4 separate regions of the Homo sapiens genome follow, and all the other regions are linked to region 1. The links are contacts of gene promoters, found by promoter capture Hi-C in blood cells and fetal thymus (Javierre and others, 2016). All regions are on one chromosome and are shown on one strand. Each heading gives the region's core, a stretch centred on a gene start or on the middle of the fragment in contact. The rest is flanking DNA. Distances are from core to core; before and after follow the strand shown.

Evidence for each region. Contacts are between HindIII fragments. The CHiCAGO score rates a contact against its expected background, and 5 or more counts as called.
Region 2: a contact is called between the fragment with the promoter of MARCKSL1 here and a fragment that was not itself captured in region 1, in 1 of 17 cell types (neutrophils). The highest score is 6.4, in neutrophils.
Region 3: the fragment with the promoter of HDAC1 here is called in contact with a fragment that was not itself captured in region 1 in 1 of 17 cell types (neutrophils); the score reaches 5.0 in neutrophils.
Region 4: a contact is called between the fragment with the promoter of CCDC28B here and a fragment that was not itself captured in region 1, in 1 of 17 cell types (fetal thymus). The highest score is 5.4, in fetal thymus.

What each region holds. Positions count from the first base shown.
Region 1 is chr1:31,646,301-31,652,504 of GRCh38, reverse strand. It overlaps PEF1-AS1 (PEF1 and COL16A1 antisense RNA 1), which reads right to left. Exons shown (of 6, transcript NR_184313.1): 3 at 517-656. It overlaps COL16A1 (collagen type XVI alpha 1 chain), which reads left to right. Exons shown (of 71, transcript NM_001856.4): 71 at 1-242. Among named protein-coding and RNA genes, the nearest start is that of PEF1, 4.5 kb to the right of the region's middle. The HindIII fragment of the contact is 1,574 bases long and covers 1,967-3,540 here.
Region 2 is chr1:32,333,618-32,339,821 of GRCh38, reverse strand. MARCKSL1 (MARCKS like 1) reads left to right here and starts at 3,589. Exons shown (of 2, transcript NM_023009.7): 1 at 3,589-3,875; 2 at 4,725-5,983. The coding sequence starts at 3,789. The coding sequence ends at 5,225. It overlaps LOC124903949 (a long non-coding RNA gene), which reads right to left and starts at 4,445. Exons shown (of 2, transcript XR_007065661.1): 1 at 4,318-4,445. HDAC1 (histone deacetylase 1) reads right to left here. Exons shown (of 14, transcript NM_004964.3): 14 at 6,196-6,204. RefSeq lists silencers at 2,216-2,344, 3,278-3,807, 3,828-3,977, 4,108-4,187, 4,328-4,767 and enhancers at 3,008-3,097, 3,367-3,936. The HindIII fragment of the contact is 20,076 bases long and covers 1-6,204 here.
Region 3 is chr1:32,289,824-32,296,027 of GRCh38, reverse strand. HDAC1 (histone deacetylase 1) reads right to left here and starts at 3,945. Exons shown (of 14, transcript NM_004964.3): 1 at 3,810-3,945. The coding sequence starts at 3,858. RefSeq lists enhancers at 2,506-3,080, 3,152-3,211 and a silencer at 3,822-4,231. The HindIII fragment of the contact is 8,638 bases long and covers 1-6,204 here.
Region 4 is chr1:32,197,069-32,203,272 of GRCh38, reverse strand. CCDC28B (coiled-coil domain containing 28B) reads right to left here and starts at 2,678. Exons shown (of 6, transcript NM_024296.5): 1 at 2,564-2,678; 2 at 1,174-1,360. The coding sequence starts at 1,337. It overlaps TXLNA (taxilin alpha), which reads right to left. Exons shown (of 11, transcript NM_175852.4): 11 at 4,988-6,204. RefSeq lists enhancers at 1,312-1,832, 1,701-1,920, 1,833-2,352, 2,611-2,690, 2,903-3,460 and 2 more. The HindIII fragment of the contact is 8,664 bases long and covers 1-6,204 here.

The DNA of each region.
Region 1 (6,204 bases), core at 1,504-4,003:
AACTATCTGCCCTTTCCCTTCCAGTGGGTTCCTCTGGTGCTGCAGCCAGAGCTCCCTGTTGCCCTCCTTTTCCCGTTTAGTCCCAGGAACAAAAAAGGGCATTTTGGGTACAGGGGCATATACCTGTAATCCTAGCTATTCAAGGGGCTGAGGTGGGAGGATCGCCTGAGCCCAGGAGTTTGAGACCAGTCTAAGCAACATAATGAGACTCAGTCTCCGAAAAATAAAAATTAAAAAATAAAGGGTATTTCCCTCCTTGCCTGTGGTCAGCCAGTGGTGCTGTGAGATTCTGCTGGATGGGGGCAGCTGATGACCCTTTGCTCCTCGGGATCTTGTGCCCTGTTCTTCATGCCTACGTCTCTTGAGTTAGAGAAGGAGCATCACTCAGCCTCTTCTCTCAAGTGAACCAAAGCACGTTGGAAGGTCCCACTTCCTGCTTTAAAGGTCCCTCCCTATTTGATTCCCTAAAGAAACCCGTGTTCAGTACCCCACCCACTCTTTGCCCATCCACTTCACCTTGTCAGTGTGACCCAGAGCCGGTCCGGGTTGCACCCTGGGAAAATGCCACCCGGTGCTGAGGTGTGTTCATCTGCCTGGAAGCCCTTCCAAGCATGCAGGCACTTCTTGATGCTCCAGTAATTCTGTGATTAGAATACCTGTGCAAACAGGAGAGAAGACAGGCTCCAGCTCTGTCCTAGGCATCCAGGGAATGCTTCTCTGGGAAATGAGATGGAACCTTCTGCCTGTACCAATGCATGGTCACTAGCTCTCTATAAGTGCTTCCAGCAATGACTTTCTGGAGGGCAAATAACATCTCCTGTTTTTCTTTATTATTCTAATATACGTGGTACTTTTCCTGTACATCTTAGCCTAGGCCTTTAGAAACAGCCAGGTTGTATCAGTACAAAGAGTTCATGGGCAAGCCACGAGCAGATCTAAGCTCACGGTCCTCAAAGTCCACTGGGAGTTTGGTGATCTATCTGTTGTGTCCTTCTCCCTATGTAAAAAAGGCTAGGAAGGGGAAAAAAGACAGTGAATTGAATATTATAGAAACATTCTCTCTTGAGCTTCTTCCTTCTCTACTTTTTAGATCTCTTGTCCTGATGGGCTGGCTGCCCTGTGAGAAAGCAACAAGGCACTTCCAGGGGGATTTCCAAAGAAAGCTTTTTCACTGGCCCCAGCTATCTGGAAGGTTTATTCAAGTTGGATACACTTCAAAGGACTCACAGAGCAGGCTCAGAAATGTACCCAAAGTCTAGATGCTTATCCAAACTGCCTGAAGCCTTCAAACCGGCTGTCAAATCTCTGCAGAGCTGGTATTTCTAGCACATTTCTGAAAACTCCCTTCTCTAGTTGGGTCCCAAATACCAGGAGACCAGCCTATTGATGGCTTTTCAGAACCTTTGCCCTATTTTTTTTTTTCCTGCCAGGAGCAAAGGTGTGCTGGTGGCCAGAAGAATGAAATCAGACTCCTGAGCATGCCCGAGTGTCTCATGTGATGTTTTTAGATAAAGGAGGCGCTGATTCTTTTTTCATCCCTCCCCAGCTATTCTCAGTTAACCCTGGTTCTAACATAAAACATTAAAAAGCAAAGGCATCATTTTTGTACTGAAGTAGCAGCCAGGTTTTGGACAGTGGAAGAGGACAGATGTTAAAGCACTCCCATTGGAAGGCCAGCTTCCTCTTTCAGCCTAGTCTGCCGAGTACTAGCTGATGATAGGCCTTCTCATGAGGAGCATGTTGGCGCTGGCAGAAAGAAAGAGACGCAAGGACCAGCTGTGGAATTGAGCAGGTTGGCTTTGAAGGCCAGAGGGGAAAAACTGCTATGAGGAAACATCCAACTCATCCCCTTTAAGGGTCACCAGGGAATTGATCCTTATAGAGTAAATGATGCCTTCTTCACTTTTCTTCCTGAGTCAAATTCATGCTACTCTTAAGGGATTCTACGACAGGCTAGGTTTAAGCTTTCATGATTTGAATGCATGTCTCCCCGGAGTTTGAAATTGCTGTATTTTCTTGGACCATGAAGAACCAGATGGAAAGCTGAATTTTATAGTCTCTTCTGTTACTGTGGTCAGCAAGAAATCCATGGATCTTGCTCATCAGTTCAGGAGCTGGGTAAGCTGAAGAGAAAGCAAGGAGGGGCATGTGTCGTCCATTCCTCTTAGGCAGCTTTTGCACGTTCCAACCCCATTATCCTTCTGTCTTCATTTCTTAACCTACTCCAGGCTTTCCAGGCAGCACACAGATCATTCAGATTGGAAAAGTCTAACTTGATGAGTCCATTCCTCTTCCTACTTTGTCCCAGGGACTGTACTAGGCTCTGGGGATCCCAAGGCAAACTAGACAGATATGGTCCCTGCTCCCACAGCATCCACAGGGAGAGCAGACAGTTAAACAAGCACCTACAATAAAGTGGGATGATAGGGCAGTGCCAGGTACAGGGGAGTGCACAGCTGGGGAACCTAACCATGTCTAGACGAAGAGATGGATTCAGGCAGAGGGAACAGCACGTGCCAAGGCCCAGAAATGACTGGTTGCAGCAGGCTGAGTGACGGGAGACAGGACAGTGTGATTGGATTTTGGAGCATGAGCAGGGAAGACAGTTGGAAGCCACTGGTGGGTTTCTCACAAAGGTGTGTCAAGTCAGGTTTGCCGAGTGGGGAGTTCGCTGATGGCAGTGTGAAGGATGGGACTGGAGGGTCCTTAATTTGAGAAACCCTCTGCTCAATAAGATGGAGAAAAGGCTGCTGTGTATTTATTCTGCAGAGAAAAATCTAAACTTTGATGCTTCTGGAATTTAAATCTTCATTTTTTGTCATAATATTTTCCTCTGTCACTCAAATTCAACAGAATCTAATTAGACTCTTTCTTCATCTGGGGTCTGTTAACCCCTTTACAAGACTAGTTTTTTTTTTTTTTGGAGGTGGGGGGACAGAGTCTCACTCTGTCACTCAGGCTGGAGTGCAGTGGTGCGATCTTGGCTCACTCAACCTCCACCTCCAGGGTTCGAGTGATTCTCCTGCCTCAGCCTCCGGAGTAGCTGGGACTACAGGCACAAGCCACCATGCCCAGCTAATTTTTGTATTTTTAGTAGAGACAGAGTTTCACCATGTTGGTTAGGCTGGTCTTGAACTCCTGACCTCAGGTGATCTGCCTGCCTCGGCCTCCCAAAGTGCTGGGATTATAGATGTGAGCCACCGTGCCCGGCCATGGATATTTTTTTTTTTTTTTTTTTGGTGCTGGAGATCCCAAAGGACTAGATCTTTTTTGTGGCTGTCCTGAACAGTTTATGGGAATAGACGATGTCAACGTACTCTACTTATGATCCCATAATGGAAGGGGAGTGTGGCCAAATTGCCACGTCTGCTGTTCTCATTCCTCTGTTGCTTCTGTGGAAAGTTGCAAATCATCCTCTGATCCACAGCATCCAACTGGAATTTAAATTTCAGAACTGGATCTAGTTGGAATCAAAGAGAATTAATTCCATAATAATTAGGTGGGTGTTGGTATTCCTTCTCAGTAAGCCTTACAGAAGCTTGGTGCGAGCCAAGTGGCTCCTGGGAGGCTGTGTCTCTAGGGGAGGCAATATTTTCCAGTGGATGGGCTTTTCATTACCAAGCTCTGCCTCACCCCTAATGGGTCAACCGCAGGGCTTCCACGAACTCAGGAAAGTGCTCTGTGTTCTAAAAAAAGTCTGGAATCCATGCTTTCCCCTTGGGCTACAAGTGAAACAATAACAGGAACTTCTCCACCCACCTCTGTCTGCCTCAGGTAGATGAGGTTTTGGAAGTGAGTTGATTGTTTTTCAGTCTTAGGAAGATCCTGATCTCTCTTTTATCCAGCCCCCTCCAAAACAAACATACCTGGGCCTGTGTGGGTCCTCAGAGGCACAGCCCTGGCTGTTGGCTTTGGCACGTTCCTGACTCCCTAAGAGAAGATGTGGATGCTCCATCCACGAAATAGCACAGACCTCCCACAGATAGTTCTCCTAAGCCCTTTGCTGGGCATAGGGGAATGGGGGCAAATAATTCTCATAGGAGTTGGATTCTCATCACCTAGAACAGAGCCTGGCAAGAGGTGGGAACCCAATGGGATCATATGTTTGTGGAATAAATGAGTGTGTGTCACATGACTCCAGTTTGCAGGCCAGCTTGTCACTGTTCTCTCTCCAGGCAAATACCCACTTGACCTTCAACCTTCTTCCCTTCTGAAGTTTTGCAGCTCAATTCCACCAATATTTTTTGAACTGGGGGGTTAGGAAGGTAAAGAAGACACAATCTACTAACTATTAAATACTGAGTAGTTAAAAAAAATGCAGACCTGGGATCAAGTCCTACTTCTCCATTTATCTTTTTTTTTTTTTTTTTTTTTCCCCAGACAGAGTCTCTCTGTTGCCCAGGCTGGAGTGCAGTGGTGCAAACACAGCTCATTGCAGCCTTGACCTCCTGGGCTCAAGCAATCCTCCCACCTTGGCCTCTGGAGTGGCTGGGACTCCAGACACATGCCACCATGCCTGGCTAATTTTTTAAAACTATTTTTTGTAGCGATAGGGTCTCACTATGTTGTCCAGGCTGGTTTCGAACTCCTAGGCTTAAGCGGTCCTCCTCCCTGCCTCCCAAAGTGTTGGGATTATAGGCGCGAGTCACTGCGCCTGGGCTCCATTTATCTTTTTGATAACAGGAAGGTCACTTAACCTCTCTGAGCCTCAGCTCCTCATTATAAATGGGTAATAGTCTCTATCTCAAAAGACTGTGGTGAAAATTAAACAACACATAGTACTTAGCACAACGTCTGGCACCTAGTAAGCACTCAATACATGATAATAATAACTACTAACATTGAATTCATGCTAGGCACTATTCTAGGTGCTGAGGTTAGAGGACTACATAAGAAAATGACAATTCTACAATATACATGTAAACAAAGTGGACAATTCAACTAGTGACATGTATTATGAAAAAATAAGATAGATGATGGGAATGCTTGGGGGGCAGTGTCAAGAAACTCCCCCCACCCCAGGTGATATCTGAACTGAGACCTGGATGATAAGGAGAAGCCAACCAGTGAAAAGTCAAGGGAAGACTATCCCAGACAGAGGGAAAAGCTAGTCCAAAGACCTGGAGGCAGGAATGAGCAGGCAGTCAGAGACCAGCCAAAGCCAACATCCAGGAATGAGCTCTGTACATTCCAGGAATGGCACAACCAGGCCGGCATGGCTGGAATGAGGCAAGGGGGACAGCAACAGCAAGAAATGAGGCTGGAGATGCTGGTATGTGTGGCCATGAATGTCATTAGGATGAGTTTAGCTTTTATTATAAGAGTGATGGGAAGTCCCCAGGGAGTTGAAGCCAAGGAATAAGATAACCACTCTGGCTGCCTGTGGAGAAAATGAAGCGTGGGGAGAAGAGTGAGAGCAGGAACATTGGTCAGTCGGCTATTGTAGTGATCCAGGCACGGATGATAGTGTCTTGGACTACAGTGATAGTGCGAACAGGGAGAAAAGAGCAGATGTGTACATGTTTGAATTAGAGCAAATGGAGATGAGGGAGGTGAGGGAGTGTGTGGAGAAAAAAAGGACACACAGGAATGATCTTAGGTTTTTGGCCTGAGAGACTGGGTGGATTTTCTGAGATGGAGAGGAATGGGTTTTGGGGAAAACACCAAAAGAAAACTCTTATACAAGGCAGGCTGGAATACCACACAGTGACAGTACCAAGTGCAAAGGGGGAGTGGCAAGAGAGAGTGGCTAACTCTGGAGCTAAGGGGAATGTGGGAGGGTTAGGTGGAGAATGGAATTGGAACTGAGCCTTGCAGGACTGGAGTTGGGAGGGCTGCTGGTCCAGGTGAAAGGAGTGGTTTGAACCTAAGTTTGGGGCATGAGCAGGTATAATAAGCTCATTTTCAAATTTACACATTTGTTCCTGTCAGCTAAGAAAAGTGAAATTTAGAGAGGTTAAATAACTTGCCTAAATAAAATGTGGTAGATATACACTGTGGAATACTATGCAGCCATAAAAAAGGAACAAGATCATGTCCTTTGCAGGGACGTGGATGGAATTGGAAGCCATTATCCTCAGCAAACTAACAGAGAAACAGAAAACCAAACACCGCATGTTACCACTTATAAGTGGGAGCTGAATGAGGAGAGCACATACACCACTGGGGTCTGTCGGAGCGTAGAGGGAGGTGGGAAGAGGGAGA
Region 2 (6,204 bases), core at 2,340-4,839, 690 kb before region 1:
TCTTTTCTCCCTCCCGTCATGGGAAACCCCTGAGGGCTGGGACCCTGCCTGACTCACTACTTACTCTTAGACGTCTAAGTGTGAGCAGAAAGAGGAACTCCAGTCAGTATCTGCAACTATGAATCACAGAGCCCAACCTCTCACTGTACAGATGAGCCAACTGAGGCCAAAGAGGAGAGAGGACTGGCTGATGGTGACAGCAAGAAGTGCCCAACCTGGGGCAAGAACCGAGGTCTCCAGGTCCAGCTGATGCTCCCCAGAAGGAGATGGGGACTGGGGCTGTGCCAAGTAGCTGTTCCCTAGGGCCTCCGTTGGGACCTCTGATGATGTGTCTTCCCATCTCAAGGCCTTTACATATGCCAGTCCCTCCGCTAGGAAGGCCCATGCCTCCATCTCTGACTACATATTGCCCATTCACACCTCCCCTGGCATCTAATCCAGTCCTCAACACAAGGCTCCGGGGCCTGACAGACCTTAAAGTATCCCCCAACCTCCTTCATGGGGCATTGGTTTCTGCTGCCCCCTCCCATCTTCACCCCTGCCCTGCGTCTCTCCAGAGGCCCCAGGTTGCCTGCCAGGGAAATTCATCCCCTGCTGTCCGTGCCTGATTCATGGTGGGGCCGGGAGCATCTCAGGCCAGGGCCAGGGCCAGAGCCCTTACTAGGAGAACTGGGACAGATGAGGAGTTGTATGAACGTGGGGTCTCTGGTCTCTGCACCTTCCATTCCCCCATCCATCCCAGCGTCACCCTGTCCTCATTCCTCCTTTCCCTGTCACTCCATCCTGGCAAACGCCCACATCTCAAAGGTTCTAACCACCACAGCCACAGCCTCAGTGACACACTGAGGCACACACAGCTCCCCACCGCCACAGGAACACTCACCCAGACATAAAGGAGCCGCTCTTTGCTCCACACATTCAGATATTCCCGAACTCTGGGCTTAAGCAGTCTTCCCGCCCCAGCCTCCCAAAGCACCGGGATGACAGGCGAGAAGCCACCACGCCCGGCCCATCGATATTCTCTCATACAGCCACACACTCAGTTTCACACCCAGTCAGACACAGTCACCAACAGTCTCAAGGAAGGGCAGGCACAAACCCAGCAAGTCTCAGTTACCAGGATCACCAGGCTCTCTCCTTCACCCTTGAATATACAGGGCCAAACAAAGATCCAGACGCACGCAACCACAAATGTGCACACCTGGGCACACGCGCACACACACACACAGCCAGAAAGTCTCACACACACAGACACAGAGCAATACACACAGTCACACACAGAGAGAAACAGATACACGCAGTTGCACACTGGCTCCCGGAGACGCAGAACAATGGGCGCATTGTCTGGGTTGGCAGCAGCTGGGGAGGAAGGAGCTGCAGTGTGGACCGAGGAGGCCATGGGGCTGCTGTAACCTCCCACCCCCACCCTGAAGCATCCTAAACCTCTTGCCTCTTCCAGAAGTCAGATTCTGCTGGGACCTGGATTTGCTGAGGGATCAGGCTCCCAGGCGCCCCCTCCCCAGCCTCCTGGGATGTCTGGTGGGGATACAGGGCATCCCCTGGGGACCAGGCTCCCTCTGGGGCTCTGGGGACTTGGGGTCTTTTACCCTGATGCTCTTCGATGCCCCTCCTGGGATCCTTGGGAAGATTTGCCTCTCATCCCCGCCAGGCAGTGCCTGGGGATCAGAAGCCTTAGGTTCTGCTCTTAACCTCTGACCCCAACCCGTGCAAGACTCACACACCCTCCGTCCCTCTGAGCCCAGCCAGCTGGTGCGGGCAGCGCCTGGCAGCATTGTGGGTTCCCTATTGTGGCTGAGACAGAGAGCAGGTCATGACATCCTTCCCTTAGTGGCAAGCTGTGGAGAAGTCACGGTACTTTCAGTGAGCTGCAGTGGGGGCACAGTGCCTCTCCCCGTCCCAAAGCTAGCCCTTGCCTCCCACTCTGACCAGGCAGCCCCAGATCTCAACAGAAAATTCTGCCAGGGGATTCCTTACAGCCCTTGGCCCATGTTATCAAACCTCTCCAAGCCTTTTCTCACCCTCAGCTACTGGTAGCTGCTGTGTGCCCTTGGGCATGTCACTTTCTCTTCCTGAACCTCAGGGTCCCAGTCTGTGAAATGGGGCGGGGGTGGGGGGCAAGTGAAGCTGAGATAGCTGAGGGTATTCTGTAGTCTCAGGGTGGGGGTGGGGATGGAGGATACAGGAGTGAGTGCAGAATGCAGAAGCCACCTCAGCCCTCCCCGCCCCTCTGTGGTCAGATCTCTGGGGAGTTCCCAATTTCTCAGGCCCTGGGGTGTCTCCACACTTCACAGCCTCAGGCCTCCCAGGAGGCTTCACCGTAGGAGGGAGGGGAGGGACTTGCTGAGCTGGCTGGGACACAGCCTTGCATTTGCAACACTTTGCTTCCTTCCAGCCCCCATCCCTTTCCTCCTGGGGGCTGAGGGCTGGCAGCCGGACACAGACATCCGGGGCCGGCCAGGATTCTGGGGTTCCCACCAGCCTATCCAGGCCAGCAGAAGGAGAGGTGGCAGAGGACCAAAGCTAGGGAGTCTCCAGCCCGGAGCACCTCCGGGCTCCCTTGCTCTCAGGCAGGGTGGGAAGCTGGGCTGGGCAGCTTTGAGGGCTGTCCTCAAGGGGCTGTCCCTTGAAGGGACCCTTGGTAGCATCCTATCCCTCCCCTTCAGAAACTGGGGTGTTTTGAGGTTTGTTGAGTCCCCAGCTGGGGTTCCTCTGCCGGCCTGGGGCACCCTGATGTAGGGGAGCAGAGTTGTGTGTGGAGGTAAAGAGGAAGGACCAGAGCCAAGTCAGACAGGTTGTCAATGCCTCTGAGCCTTGGCCTTTCAATGGGGATGGAGATGCCCTTCAAGGTCACAAAGTCCCCCACGTGGGACTTTGCAGTGGGTCCAGGCTGAGGGCAGGAGGGGCTCAAGGCGAATCTGTCTGTCCCCACTCAGAATGACTGGCCACCAAGGGACTGAAAGGAGGAATGAGGGAAAGGCCTCACTAGTCCGACCAGAGTGACCCCGAGGCAAGGCAGAGCCCTCCGCTCCCCGGCTGGCCATGGCAGGCAGGCAGGGACGTGGGTGGGACCTCTGACCGCTCTCCAGGCCGGAGCGGGTGCCGAGCCCAGCGCAGGGGCCCTGCAGCTTCTATGACCACATTTCTAGAGTATAATTCAGGACCAGCCATCTGACGAGCCTGGTCGTGTGAGCCCTTCGAAGGGTTCAAGCGGGAGACTGCCAGCGGCTGCAGGACCAAGGCGTTGGGGGCCGCTCCAGGCTGCGGGGGCGCCCACCGGAGAGGTGGAGCGGAGAGGATGGAATGACTGCCCGTCTCCTTCCTCCAGGCCCCCCGCCCCGCCCCGCCCAGCTCGCGGGAGGACTGGCCTCGCTCCTGCCCACACCGGACTCTACCTGCCCCTGGGATTCGGGTGGGGTGGGGGGTACCCGACCGCCAGCGTCGCCTGCTGCGCAAGTGGGGCCTGCGAGCCAACCCCGCCTCCGCCCCTCGATTGGGCGCGCATTTAAATGTCCGGCCCCGCCCCGAGCTCCGGGCGCTTATATATAGGCAGCTCGGCGGGCGGCGGGCGGCATTCTGGCGCGGAGCGGAGCGGCGGCGGGCGCAGCTAGCGGGTCGGCCGCGGAGCGGAGGTGCAGCTCGGCTTCCCCCGGCACCCCTCCCCCTCGGGCGCCAGCCCCACCCCTCCGCCGGCCGGGCCGACCCCGCCGTACTATCCCCTGCGGCGCGAGCCCGGGGCGGCTCCAAGCGCCCCCCAGCAGACCCCCATCATGGGCAGCCAGAGCTCCAAGGCTCCCCGGGGCGACGTGACCGCCGAGGAGGCAGCAGGCGCTTCCCCCGCGAAGGCCAACGGCCAGGTGGGTACGCTTGGCCCGGCCGGCCCCAGCCCCTCCTCTCGCACCTCGCCCCTTCTAGGGCCCGGGGCCGGGGCCGGGGCCGCGCGCTTTGTCCGGCCCGGGACACGCGGCGCCCCCTCCCCCGCCCGGTCCCTTTGTTCTCGGCGCCGCAGCCCCCGCGGGCGAAGCGAGGGGAGGGGCGGGGAGGGGGCGCCGGCCGGGCCCTGCCGCCTTCTTTGTTCGCGGCCCCGGTCCCCGGCGCTGCCCCCCGGCCGCCCCGAGTGCCGCGCGGGGAACAAAGGCGCTGCTGGGCCACGCCAAGGGGGCGCCCAGGGGCCGCGGAGCTGGGGCCCGGCGGGGAGCGCACTCCACCCGCCGACCCGACCTCGGTGGCCCACGGTCTTTTTTTTTTTAAGGGGGAGCCGAGATGCGGGAGAGCCTGGGGTGGGTGGGGGCCACTTACACAAAGCGGGAGGCTGGGAAAATAGGCCGTCCAGGTGCAGAGAGACAGCGCCCCGGGGCGGCTTCCCGCCCAATGTCGCCTAGAGCGGCTCGCCCGCCTGCCCGGGATCCGCACAGCAGATCCGGAGCGGTTCCGCGCGGAATAGAGAGCGCGCCCCGGGGGACGGGGGTGGGGGCCACGGGACCCCAGCGCCTCCTGCCGGTCGCGCCCTCTGCGCGCTCGCTCCCCGCGCGCCCGTGAGGGGCGAGAGGGAGGTGTTTGACGGGATCCTGGGTGTGGGTGAGGCTGAAGCCAGACTTTCGGGTTGCAGTAGAATCGAATCGAGGACCCCTTCCTCTAGAAGGGATCAGAAGCGGGCTGGGGGAGGGGGAGCCCCTGCCCTCATTGCTATTCCCTCTGCCCTGCAGGAGAATGGCCACGTGAAAAGCAATGGAGACTTATCCCCCAAGGGTGAAGGGGAGTCGCCCCCTGTGAACGGAACAGATGAGGCAGCCGGGGCCACTGGCGATGCCATCGAGCCAGCACCCCCTAGCCAGGGTGCTGAGGCCAAGGGGGAGGTCCCCCCCAAGGAGACCCCCAAGAAGAAGAAGAAATTCTCTTTCAAGAAGCCTTTCAAATTGAGCGGCCTGTCCTTCAAGAGAAATCGGAAGGAGGGTGGGGGTGATTCTTCTGCCTCCTCACCCACAGAGGAAGAGCAGGAGCAGGGGGAGATCGGTGCCTGCAGCGACGAGGGCACTGCTCAGGAAGGGAAGGCCGCAGCCACCCCTGAGAGCCAGGAACCCCAGGCCAAGGGGGCAGAGGCTAGTGCAGCCTCAGAAGAAGAGGCAGGGCCCCAGGCTACAGAGCCATCCACTCCCTCGGGGCCGGAGAGTGGCCCTACACCAGCCAGCGCTGAGCAGAATGAGTAGCTAGGTAGGGGCAGGTGGGTGATCTCTAAGCTGCAAAAACTGTGCTGTCCTTGTGAGGTCACTGCCTGGACCTGGTGCCCTGGCTGCCTTCCTGTGCCCAGAAAGGAAGGGGCTATTGCCTCCTCCCAGCCACGTTCCCTTTCCTCCTCTCCCTCCTGTGGATTCTCCCATCAGCCATCTGGTTCTCCTCTTAAGGCCAGTTGAAGATGGTCCCTTACAGCTTCCCAAGTTAGGTTAGTGATGTGAAATGCTCCTGTCCCTGGCCCTACCTCCTTCCCTGTCCCCACCCCTGCATAAGGCAGTTGTTGGTTTTCTTCCCCAATTCTTTTCCAAGTAGGTTTTGTTTACCCTACTCCCCAAATCCCTGAGCCAGAAGTGGGGTGCTTATACTCCCAAACCTTGAGTGTCCAGCCTTCCCCTGTTGTTTTTAGTCTCTTGTGCTGTGCCTAGTGGCACCTGGGCTGGGGAGGACACTGCCCCGTCTAGGTTTTTATAAATGTCTTACTCAAGTTCAAACCTCCAGCCTGTGAATCAACTGTGTCTCTTTTTTGACTTGGTAAGCAAGTATTAGGCTTTGGGGTGGGGGGAGGTCTGTAATGTGAAACAACTTCTTGTCTTTTTTTCTCCCACTGTTGTAAATAACTTTTAATGGCCAAACCCCAGATTTGTACTTTTTTTTTTTTTCTAACTGCTAAAACCATTCTCTTCCACCTGGTTTTACTGTAACATTTGGAAAAGGAATAAATGTCGTCCCTTTAGTGGTGCTTTAATGAGTGGTCTTCTGGGGGTAGGGTGAGAAGATTGGTGGAAAGTAGTTTACCTCAAACCTCAAGGGAGGAGTTAAGGCAGGCAGGTAAGTTTATGGGGTTTTCTTGTTCAGGGGGTTGCCCCAATACTCATGGACACCAGAACGGCAGGGAAGTAGAGTTGAAACCAACCCAGGGACACATAGGAAACAAGCTCAGGAGGATATAGAAAT
Region 3 (6,204 bases), core at 2,696-5,195, 640 kb before region 1:
GGGGGAGTACACAGCATGAGGGGCACTAAACTTTTCCTCAATCCACTTCCTTAGAATTCCACCCTGGAATTCTATATAACTTATTGGGTGACTGCATCCTTTATGACTAAATTTACTACAATTAAAATTGCTAGCAGCCAGGAATGGTGGGTCATGCCTATAATCCCAACACTTTGGGAGGCTGAGCCCAGGACTTCAAGGCCAGCCTGGACAACATGGCAAGACAACATCTCTACAACAAACAAACAAACAAACAAACAAATAAAATAACTATCCATATGCTGATTGTTATGGTCTGAATGTGTCCCCCAAAATTCATGTGTTGGAAACATATTCCCCAATGCCAACAGTGTTTGGAAGTGGAGCCTTTTGGGAGGTGTTTAGGTCTCAAGGGCTCTACCATCCTCACTAATACATTAATGGCCATATAAAAAAACAGAGTTTATCCTTTTTTGCCTTTCCACCTTCTGTCATATGAAAACACTGAATTCAAAGCACCATATTGGAAGTAGAGACCAGACCCTCACCAGACACCAAATGCTGGCACCCTGATCTTGGACTTTCTAGCCTTGGACTTCTCAGCCTCCAGAACTATGAGAAATACATTTATGTTCTTTTTTTTTTTTTGACACAAGGTCTCACTCTGTCCCCCAGGCTGGAGTGCACTGGTGCGATCATGGCTCACTGCAGAGTCGACCTCCCAGGATCAAGTGATCCTCCCACTTCAGCCTCTCTACAGGCACATGCCATCATGCCCAGCTAATTTTTTTACTTTTTGTAGAGACAGAGTCTCCCTAAGTTGCCCAGGCTGGTCTCAAACTCCTGGGCTCAAGAGAACCATCCGCCCCAGCCTACCAAAGTACTGGGATTATAGGCGTGAGCCACCACATTCAGCAATTTCTGTTCTTTATAAACAGTGTTCTGTTATAGCAGACTAAGATACTGATGACTACCAAAAAATTTCTATCTTCTAAACTGCCTACTGGATGCCTCTACTTGGATGTCCCCTAAACATCTTAACAGTTATCAATAGTTATTTCTAAACAAACAAACAACAACAACAAAAAAAACAGTGGCTTAGGCCTGTAATCCCAGCACTTTGGGAGGCCAAGGTGGCAGGATTGCTTGAGGCCAGGCACAGGAGTTCAAGACAAGCCCAGGCAACATATTGAGACCCCATCTCTAGAAGTTTAAAAAAAAAAAAAAAAAGTTGGGGCCGGGTGCGGTGGCTCACACCTGTAATCCCAGCACTTTGGGAGGCCGAGGCGGGCGGATCATGAGGTCAGGAGATCCAGACCATCCTGGCTAACACGGTGAAACCCTGTCTCTACTAAAAATACAAAAAATCAGCCCAGTGTGGTGGCGGGCGCCTGTAGTCCCAGCTACTGGAGAGGCTGAGGCAGGAGAATGGCATGGACCCGGGAGGTGGAGCTTGCAGCAGTGAGCCGAGATTGCGCCACTGCACTCCAGCCTGGGCGACAGAGCGAGACTCCATCTCAAAAAAAAAAAAAAAAAAAAGTTATCAACTGACATGGCATTCTCCAAACCTCCAAACACTCACCATCAAATTGCCCACATCAGAGGCCAGGAAGTGTGGCTCATGCCTATAATCCCAGCACTTTGGGAGGCTGAGGCAGATGGAGCACTGGAGGTCAGTTTGAGACCAGCCTGGCCAACATCGTGAAACCCCATCTCTAATAAAAATACAAAAACTAGCCAGGCATGGTGGCGCACGCCTGTAATCCCAGCTACTCAGGAGGCTGAGGCAGGAGAATCCCTTGAATCTGGGAGGTGGAGGTTGCAGTTGCAGTGAGCCGAGATCAAGCCACTGCACTCCAGCCTGGGTGACAGAGCTAGACATCATCTCAAAAAATAAAAAATACTGCCCACACCAGGAACTTGGGATCCATGCCTTCTTCCTTACCCCTACAATCTGAATTTTTTTGTTTTTTTTTTTTTTGAGACGAAGTCTCGCTCTGTTGCCCAGGACGGAGTGCAGTGGTGAGATCTCAGCCCACTGCAACCTCTGCCTCCCAGGTTCAAACAACTCTCGCACCTCAGCCTCCTGAGTAGCTGGGACTACAGGCATGTGCCACCACACCTCGCTAATTTTTTTTTTTTTTTTTGAGATGGAGTCTCACCCTGTTGCCCAGGCTGGAGTGCAGCGGTGCAATCTTGGCTCACTGCAACCTCTGCCTCCTGGGTTCAAGCGACTCTCCTGCCTCAGCCTCCTGAGTAGCTGGGATTACAGGTGCGCACCACCACACCCGGGTAATTTTTGTATTTTTAGTAGAGACAGGGTTTCACCATGTTGGTCAGGCTGGTCTTGAACTCCTGACCTCATGATCCGCCCGCCTCAGCCTCCCAAAGTGCCGGGATTACAGGCGTGAGCCACCGTGCCCAGCCTAAATTTTGTATTTTTAGTAGAGATGGGGTTTCACCGTGTTGGCCAGGCTGGTCCTGAACTCCTGGCCCCGAGTGATCTGCCTGCCTCAGCCTCCCAAAGTACTGGGATTAGAGAGGTGTGAGCCACTGCACCTGGCCCCCATTACTTTAATTTCTAAGGTATAAACCTGATGATGTCAATAACCTGCATAAAACTTGAATCACTCACAAGTGCCCTCAATAAAGTCCAACTTCCTTGGGACAGCATGCCCAGCCCTTCATGGTCCGGTCCCTATTTACATCTTTTTTTTTTTTTTTTTTTAAGACAGAGCCTCGCTCTGTTGTCCAAGCTGGAGTGCAGTGGCACGATCTCAGCTCACTGCAACCTCTGCCTCCCGGGTTCTAAGGGATTCTCCTGCCTTAGGCTCCAGAGTAGCTGGGATTACAGGCGCACACCACCATGCGCGGCTAATTTTGTATTTTTAGTAGAGACGGGGTTTCACCATGTTGGCCAGGCTGGTCTCGAACTCCTGACCTCAGGTGATCCACCAGCCTCGGCCTCCCAAAGTGCTGGGATTACAGGCGTGAGCCACCACGCCCGGCCAAATGCCTGTTTTTCAAAGGTCCTGTCCTCTCTCTTGCCTCTGAAACTTGCTGTTATCTTTGCCTTCCCTGTGCCTGGCTAAGAACTCCTGTTCTTCAGGTCCTAACTAAGATGTCCCCTCCTTCGCTGACTCCTCAGGTGGAGTTCGGTGCCTCTTCTCTGTGCTCCCCTAACACTCTGAGCTCTGACACGGAGAGAACTTCGGTCACTGGGAAGGGTGACCCGATCAACCCCACGGCCCCAGCCCCTCAACACTTCCTCGAACACAGTAACCTGCTTGAGAGATTAAGTGAGAAGTCTGTTTTAACAGGTTGCATCCTTCTCCTTGCAACCCCTGGCGCCCCACGTCGCAGTAGCAACCGCAGGCCCCGCTCAGAGGCTGGGGGAGGGGAGGCGGGCAACCAGTCGTGCAGGACTCTTCCCCCAGAAAAGATGAGGAAGGGACGGGGCAGGGAAGAGCTTTGGGTTCTCGGCAAGAAAATGTATCCTTGCAGCCGTCTCCATCAGATTCAGCCTCCCCGCTCCGACGCACCCTCCCCTCTAGGAGTCCCACTCAAACTCTCCACATCAGACTTCCTCAGAATCTTCCCATCAAGATTACCTCACGCTTCCCCCACGCGATCCCCTCTTGGTCTCAGCCTCGATCTCCCTTCCTCGCAGCCTCCTCCCTCAGCCTCGACTTCCCCCTCGCAGCCTCCTCTCCGAGCCTCTCCCCAGCGCCTCAGCCTCCCGCAGCCTCCCATCGGCGCTCCAGCCTCAGCCTCCAGGTTCCCGGTCCGGCCCGGCCTGGCCCCGCCCCCGCCGCGAGGACGGTGCTCACCGTCGTAGTAGTAACAGACTTTCCTCCGGGTGCCCTGCGTCTGCGCCATCTTGCTCGCCTCCCGTCCCTACCGTCAGTCGGTCCGTCCGCCCTCCCGCCCGCGGCTCCGCTCAGCGTCCGACCCAGGGGGGAGGGGGCGGGCCTCCGGCCCGCCCCGCCCGTCCCCTCCTGGGCTCACCTATAGCCGCGCAGCCCGGGCACCGCTCCAGCCAATCAGCTTGCGCAGACACGGGCCCGGAACTCGGCAGGGGGCAAGGGCAGCCCGGAGAGGCCGCCGAGGGCCCCCTGGGCCTGTACCAAGGTCTGCGACAGATGGGTGGGGAGCCGCCCGGGGACCGTACCATCAGTCCCGGGGGAGGAAAGCAGCTCTGTAAACTTAACAGTCCCACTTCGTCGTGAAAAGCGTGCTTGGAGATCGGAGGCCAACTTTCTGATTTTACGGAGAATAAACCGAGGCCTACAGGGGAAAAGTGACTTGCACAAGGTCACTCAGCCAATAAAAGGGCTGAACCTGGGTTAGAAAGCGAGTTTGTGGCCGCAAAGGAGGGCTACAGAAAAATAATTAAAAAGAAAAGCAACACGCGGGTTTGGAGAGGAAGAAACCGACAAGAAAGGGAAAGAAAGCTAATGTTTGTCGAGGGGCTGCTGTGTGCCAAGTACTGTGCGACACTTTACCAATGTTATTTCAGTTTTTCCTCAAAACAGCTCTCGGCCAAGGGCTTTTTACCTCCATTTTACAGGACAGGATAAAGAAGTTCAGACTTCTGTGAATTATTCAAAGTTACACAAAGTAATTAAATTCAATTTTTTAATTGTACAGGGTTTTTAAAATGCTTTCTTTGCACCAGAGGCACTGTAACAAAGTGACAGAACCCAGCCTTTCAGACTCCAAAATCTACCTCCCTGATGCAGTCACCCAGGATGACTAAGTAGGCGTCTCTTTAGACAGGAGGAAATGGGATTATCCTATGATAGGAGGGCAGGTTTCCTTTCTTTTCTTTCCCTGTTTTTTTTTTTTTTTTTTTTTTTGAGACAAGAGTTTCGCTCTAGTTGCCCAGGCTGGAGTGCAATGGTGTGATCTCGGCTCACCACAATCTCTGCCTCTGTGTTCAAGCGGTTCTCCTGCCTCAGCCTCCCGAGTAGCTGGGATTACAAGCATGTGCCACCATGCCCGGCTAATTTTGTATTTTTGGTAGAGACTGGGTTTCTCCGTGTTGGTCCAGGTGGTCTCGAACTCCTGACCTCAGGATCCGCCCACCTCGGCCTCCCAATATGCTGAGATTACGGGCGTGAGCCACAGCGCCCGGCCTAGGAGGGCAGGTTTCTCAGCCTGGTAGCTAATGACATTTTGGGCCAGGTAATGCTTTTTTGTAGGAAGCTATTCTGTGCATTAACAGCTTCTGTGAAGCTGTTCTGTGCCTGGGCAACTAGAGTGAAACTCTTGTCTCAAAAAAAAAAAAAATTAAGCAGCATCCTTAGCCTCTACCCACTAGATGCCAGTAGCACCTTCCCCCCAGGCTGTGACAACCAAAATTGTCTCTAGACATTGCCAAGTACTGTGCAATAGCTTTACCATTGGGTTGGGGGGAAGATTAGTGGGGTGTAAGGGAGTGTAAAATTGCCCCCAACTCTACCATTAAGAACCACTCCACCAGATCATCAATTATCAACTGATCATCACTGAAAGCTGAAAGACCTAAAAGTGCAATGCTGGGCTATTAAAATAACTACAATAATGTCAATATTTAATGAGTGCTTCCTGTGTGCCAAACATTGCTCTAAGTTAGCCGCCAACTTGTGGTCCTACAGTCAACAAGAGGCTGGGCACAGTGGCTCACGCCTGTAATCCCAGCACTTTGGGAGGCCAAGATGGGTGGATCACTTGAGCTCAGGAGTTCGAGACCAGCCTGGGCAACATGGCAAAACCCCATCTCTACAAAAAATAGAAAAATTACCCAGGTGTGGGGGCGCGCTCCTGTAGTTCCAGCTACTCAGGAGGCTGAGGTGGGATGATGGCTTGAGCCCAGGAGACAGATGTTGCAGTGAGCCAAGATCATGTCACCACACTCCAGCCTGGGCAATAGAGCCAGGCCTTGTCTCAAACAAAAGAAAACAACAAGATACATCTTTATGCCTCTTTAAAGAGTGTTTGGGACTTGTGTTTCTCACTCAGAAACTGCATTTGAGTCATTAATTATAAGGTAACAGAAAATCTAAGACTGGGTGGCTTATAATAGAAACAGCAAAGGGCCAGGGAACAAATTCTACTCCCAGTTCTCTGTTGCTAATTCTCAGCTAGCCCTGGGTGGGTTTACTTAACCATTCTGGGCCTCCATTTCCCTTGTTATAAAATGGGGAGGAGGCCGGGCACAGTGACTCATGCCTGTAATCCTAA
Region 4 (6,204 bases), core at 1,429-3,928, 550 kb before region 1:
GTTGGCCAGGCTGGTCTTGAACTCCTGACCTCAGGTCATCTGCCTGTCTTGGCCTTCCACAGTGCTAGGATTACAGGCCTGAGCCACTGCCCCTAGCCCTCTTCTTTTTTTTTAATTAAAAAAAAAATTTTTTTTTTGTTTGAGACAGAGTCTCACTGTCACACAGGCTGGAGTGCAGTGGCACAATCTCGGTTCACTGCAACCTCTGCCTTCCAGGTTCAAGTGATTCTTGTGCCTCAGCCTCCCAAGTTGCTGGGATTATAGGCACCCACCATCACGCCTGGCTAACTTTTGTATTTTTAACAGAGATGAGGTTTCACCATGTTGACCAAGCTGGTCTCAAACTTCTGACCTCAGGTGATCTGCCTGCCTCAGCGTCCCCAAGTGCTGGGATTATAGGCTGAGCCACCATGCCCAGCCAACCCTCTTCTATTTAAAAACTCTTTTAAACAAAAACAAAAATACATAGAAAACAAAGCCAAACCAATAAACCAAAAAAACTGTCTTAAAATTTCCACTGCTCTCAGGATAAAATTGAATGCCCCTGCCAGCCTGGCCCTCCTGCCTTCCCAGTTGCCTTTCCTGCTACTCTCCCCACAGCCTTGAGCTTCATGCCCCTTAGGCAAGTGGTGTGCAAAACCAGGGGGAAACACAGTGGTCTTATCTGGAGCAACTGGAGAAAGAATACATTGTATTTAGTGGGGAACAAACATGGACACATTATAAGGCAGCATGCAAACTCCCAATCATAAAAAAAATTCAACAGAGAATTCAAATTGTGCCCCCAGGTATTTCCTCACCATTTCCTGTTCCCTGATACTCCAGGGCCCCCAAACCACCTGTGGTTCCTGAAACCTTTCAGGTAATAGCTTTCTTCCATATTTATACCAGGTAAGCCTCTCAGCGTGGAACATTCACTTTCTTGCAGAGTTGCTCACTCCCTCCTCTGAGGCGAATCCTCACGCTATGTGATCCCAGTGACCCACCTGGCCTTTTTGCCACACAGTTGAGGGTAGGGACTGGGTCTGAGTGAGCTCTGAGTTCTCAGGGGTCTGCTCCAGAAAGGCATCAATTATTGCTTAGGAACTAAAGGCGGAGGCCCCCCTTGCCTTCCTCTCTACAGTGCAACCCAGAGTTGGGGTCCCTCCTCCTTTCCTTCCCTTCTGTACCCACCTCTTGAACTTGGCCCGCTGCTTGGGGGATGGCAGATGAGGAAGTCCTAGGGCCAAGGAGCCGCTGTGGCTGGTAGGCACAGGGACCCTCCGTAGTGTGCCTGGGGCCTGGGCTGGCTGGGCCAGGCAGGGCTTGGGACTCCGTTTCTTCTTTTTGTCATCCATTGGGCGCTGGCTGGGCCTCAGGCCTAGGAGGGAAGCAACCCCACAAAGATAGCCAGGGGCAAAGTTAGCCCTTCACCCAGAAATCCCTGAGAGCTGCACCAAGGAAGGGCCCTGGGACCTTCCAGCTTGTCACCTCATCTATACGGTAGGGGCAGAGCCAGATGCCAGTGTCTGCTGCTGGGATCGTGGATGTACACTTGAAGGACCTTCTAAGGCCCAACCTAATTCCCCTTCTGCCTGAAAACCTAGGCCCCTCCTGAAAGGGTGGGACCAGTCACAACTATCTTGGCGCTACTGGGGCTTCCTGTCACGGTGGCTGGGGGGCGGGGCTGGCAGAGGAAATGTAGTGGGAGACAAGACGGAGGTGAGCTGCAGAAGCCCAGCCGAAGATTAGGGATGTCTTAACTAAACCCTATTCTATTTATCAGGGGCCTAAGCAGATGCTAACAAACCCTGTCAGCATGGGAGGGGGACAAGGTGCAGGTAGGGGCGCCTGGGAAAGCCCCAGCGTGTGGGTAATTGTAGGAGAAGCCGCAGCATACAGGGCAGGGTTCATTGTGGGTTTCCCCCACATAGACACCGGCATCCCTCCACTTCCACCCACCCCCAACCGAAAATATTAGGGACTCCCTATAGGTCCCGCGGGTGTGCTTTCAGCTGCTTCATTTTTCCCAGTCGGAAAGTCCCTGCTGGGCTTCAGCTGCAGCCAGGGTGGACTGGGTGGTTGGCCGCTGGCTGCCTGGGCCTCCGACAAAGGCTGCGCCTGTGGCTGGGCTGCTCCGAGGTCCCCGGTCCAGCAGCGCCCCCCAAGCCTCCGGTCGGCTGGGGTTCCCTCCTCTGGGGGTCTCATTCCAGGCTGCTGCTACCGAGCCTAACTTCGAATTCTGGGACTGGGGGGGTTGGGGGGGTGGGTGGCGCTTAAGCATTTACACTGACACATAGCTGGCTGCCACTGACGGGGTCTGCGGGTGTGGGGAGGGGAGATAGGAGCGCATCCTCTGCCTCTCCGTGCAGCAGCTTGACCCAATTAGGGACCTGATAGAAGAACTGGAGCCGGAGCCTGTGCTCCCCAGGAGCGGCTGGGGCGACCGGGGATCTATTTCCCAAGCCCGGGCTCCAAAGCCATGTGCCAAACTCATCGCTCAGCTCCGCAGCCGCGCTCGAAGACAGAGCGTCAGACCCGCGTCATTCCGCCCCCGCCCTCACTCCCTCAGGGGGCTACTGACCTGGAGGTTTGGGGTCTCGAGTGATGCTTCGGTGCAAGTTCCCTCCGCCCTCCGCCCTCTCCTCCCGGGAACACCACCGGGTGAAAGCTAAGCTGGAGGGAGTTCATTTGCATTTAAAGAGAAAGTGACCTTCTCCTTAGCGCGGTGGGGTGAGATGGGAGGAGCATCCCCGCGTATGCTAAGCAGTTCCTCTCACTCGACCTCACCTCCCCGCCTGAACCTAGGGGACCCTGTTGGTTGTGTGATGTCTATTTTAAAAAGATTTTCCCTTTCCCGGCAGTTTCAGAGAGAAGCTACAGTTCCTTACAAAATGGTGGTGGCTTTGTCAGAAAGGGGGTGGGGCGGGGGAGAGGAGAGACAGAGTGAGTGAGTGAGAGAGAGAGAATGTAAGCACAGAAGAAGCACAAGCAGCAACAGCAGCAGCATCAGGAAGACACTTCGAGCAAAGACAGCCATCAATGGAGTGAGTCCAGTGCCCTATTGAGCACTTTACATACATTTCATCCCCATAACAACCCTTAAGGAAGATACCAGTGTCATTCCCCATTCTACTGAAAGTAAGCAACAGTCTTTTGAGGGCAAAACCCCTCTCTCTACAATGCCAGACAGTTTTCTCTGGTAAGTGGTGGGGGCTGTATTTTGCCGCAGATGAAGTGACAGGAGTCCTCCCCACCCCCCAGGCCTAGGAGACAGGTGTGGGGAGCACCAGGTCATAAGGTAGACCACGCGATTCCCTGGCACCTGACTCCAGTCCTCAGGGAAACCTGAGCACCTGATGGAGGCTGACCCAGTGTGACTGCTGCTGCCTGCAGCCAGATCAATGGGGGCAGCTATTTAAAGCCCTGGCAGAGGCTCCTGGCGCAGGTCCCCAGAACAGCATCTGATACAACAGGAGAGAGGCTCATGTTTGGCCAGGCGGCTCAGCAGGCTCAAGTGAGCTGGCCCAGGGCAGTGCACACAGCCACCCAGCCCACCTTCCCCATCCCCGGGCAGGAGTGGCTTCCTGGGGTTGGGCCTCTTGGCTGATGTGGGGAGCCATGGGCACTGCTCCTGAGGGCACCTGCTCAGGGCTTCTTCCTGGGTACTTCCAACACTCAGAACACTCCACAAGGGTAAAGAGTAATTCCGAACTTTTTCAATAACCAGGGGCCCAGACTGGGGACAACAGAAATCCCTCTCCTTCCCCACCGGAGCTGCTAGAGTAGACAGTGGTAATGCTGCTGACAGAGGGAGCACCCCTGTGGTTCCCATCCTCAGCTGCTTCACTGGGGGGTCAGAAACCTCATTATTCTCAGAGCTGCTTTGCTTGGAATCTCCAAGAGTTGGGGCGGCACCCCCCCCACACCCTCCAGAGGATCTGCGACTAGAAATAACATGGCCAGCATGGAAAACATGTATCAGGACCCAGCTAGAAGGGTCAGAGGCTCTGCTGGGACTGTCACAGTCATTGTGGGCACATCTATTTGTGGAGGCCTGGAGGGAAGGGCAGGTGGGTTGTCTCTGCCATTTCCTGGGCATTCAGCACATATCATCCTTTGTGCCTGACCAACCCAGGACCCAGAGAGAACAGGGTGCTGGGTGAGGCCACCAGCAGCATGTCTCCCATATAGGAGTCCCATGCTTGAGGTGGGTAAATGGGGGGTGTAAAAACTGAACAGAGAATGTGCTCTCCTTAAGGAATGCATACAATTAGAGGCCCCTGTGAATTCCCTTGGGCAGGCCAGGGCTATAGGAGCCTACCCACAGCTCAGACCCAAATAGCAGTGATGAGTGTCCACCCCTCTTAACCTGGGCCTCAAATGGCCTATGCCTGGCTCCATGCCTTTTGCCTTACTGCTGGAGCCTATCAATTTCCTATTGAAACACCTTCAGTTGCCCCCCCTGCCCTCTGGATCTAGCCCACATTCCTTAACCTGGTACCCAGACTCTGGGCCCAGCCTCACCCCCTCTCCCAGTCCCATGGACCTGCTTCCCAGCTGTACCATTTAATCACTAAATGACGTTCATCTTCTACCTGCCCTGTGGTTCAGAAGGCCATTCCAGGTATCACCCCCTCACCTTGCTGAAGGGGGCAGGGGCCTCCTCTCTGCTCTCAGCACCATTGACCTGTCTATAGCTAAAAGTACCTTTTCCCTTCACTAGCCTGTGAGCCCCCAGGTCAGGGAAAACTTTTTTGTGTGTGTGTGATCCTCTCTGAGGCAAGGGTCTTGCCAACTTTGCCAAGGGCTCCACTCAGGCAGCTCAAGTGAATATGCCAGCATCCTGAGGCTGTGGCGACTGCTCAAAGACACTGTGGAATATGTAAGATACCAGGGAACCACCATGGGCGCTCTGCAGCAGACCTGAACAAGTCAGTGATGATGGAAGGGGCTGAATGGATCAGATCCAGAAACAAAGGAATACACAGGTCAGGAGAGAAACAAGTAAGGCAACAGACTCTTTATTTAATGTGGTTTAAAATACATCAAAATCAAGTCCCTGGCTGTTGTGAATACCCAAAGGAGACAAAAAAGCTGCCAGTGCAGCTTCAAACAAGTCTGAGTGGCCGGGCTGGGCCATAAGGAAAGCAGTTACAGGGACAGAAGGCAGCTCCCTTCCCCCAGGAAGGGCAAGAGGAGCAGGTGCCTGGCTGTCCCTGGGGTGACCACCTCTGTGCTGTGCAAGGCGGAAAGGCTGGGGCAGCAGCTGGAGAATCAGCTCAGCAGGCCTTGGCCCTCCCCCGTGGACACCAGGCAGCTCCACTGGCCTCCGGGTCAGCCCTCAGGGCCACCGTGATGGGGTGGAGGAGGGTTAAATAACCATCTTTACAGAAATAACAGTCTCCTACAGAAAGTGCCTGAGCTCAGCCCATGGTCCGATAACCTCATGGAAAACAAACAACAAATAAAAAAAAAAAGTGCTGCTGACACCTCTCAGAATCTGGTGGACATGAAGCTCTCAGCTGGACAAGGCCCTGAAAACAATTTACTATTAGCAGAGCCATGCGCTCTTGAGCTTCACCTGCTGTGGTCCCCTGGAGGAAAAGCTAGCAATCTAAGAAACCAACACAGATCTTGGTCCTAAAACTGAGGTCACAAGTGTGGGACCCACCCAGGTGAGGAAGACACTGGCCTTCACTCATGGATAGGCACCTCCCCTGCATCTGGCCCAGGACCTGGGCTACTTTGGAAAGCAGAAGCAGAGCAGCTGTAGTGATTGGTTGATTTGGTCAATGAAGAGAAGAAAAAGGTAGGGAACCTCATCTGCAGACTGGCCTGAAGGTCTAGACATGGATGGAGCTGTGAGCAAAGGCTGCACCTTGCCTGGGGCCCACATTCCTGACCTGGGAAACCCAGCTGGGGCCACCTGCTCACTGTGGCCTCCTACACCACCACACTGGGATCCAGCAGCTCCAGTCCCTCCACAGGCATTAAGAGGTAGCTGAAGTGTGAGTCAGGCAATTATGTGGGCCACTGTAGGCCTTTCCCCTCTCTTCAAGGGGGAAGGTGCATACCTCTGCCTCTTCCCTGCACCTCTCTCGCCTAGCAAACACTCTGTGAGGTTGGCAGCTCTTGTACCAGCTTAGCCTGGCACAGGGGCTGGGGTAGGGAAAAGGCCCTACTGGAGCAGGAAGAGGCAAGGACTACTCCAGACAGAGGGAT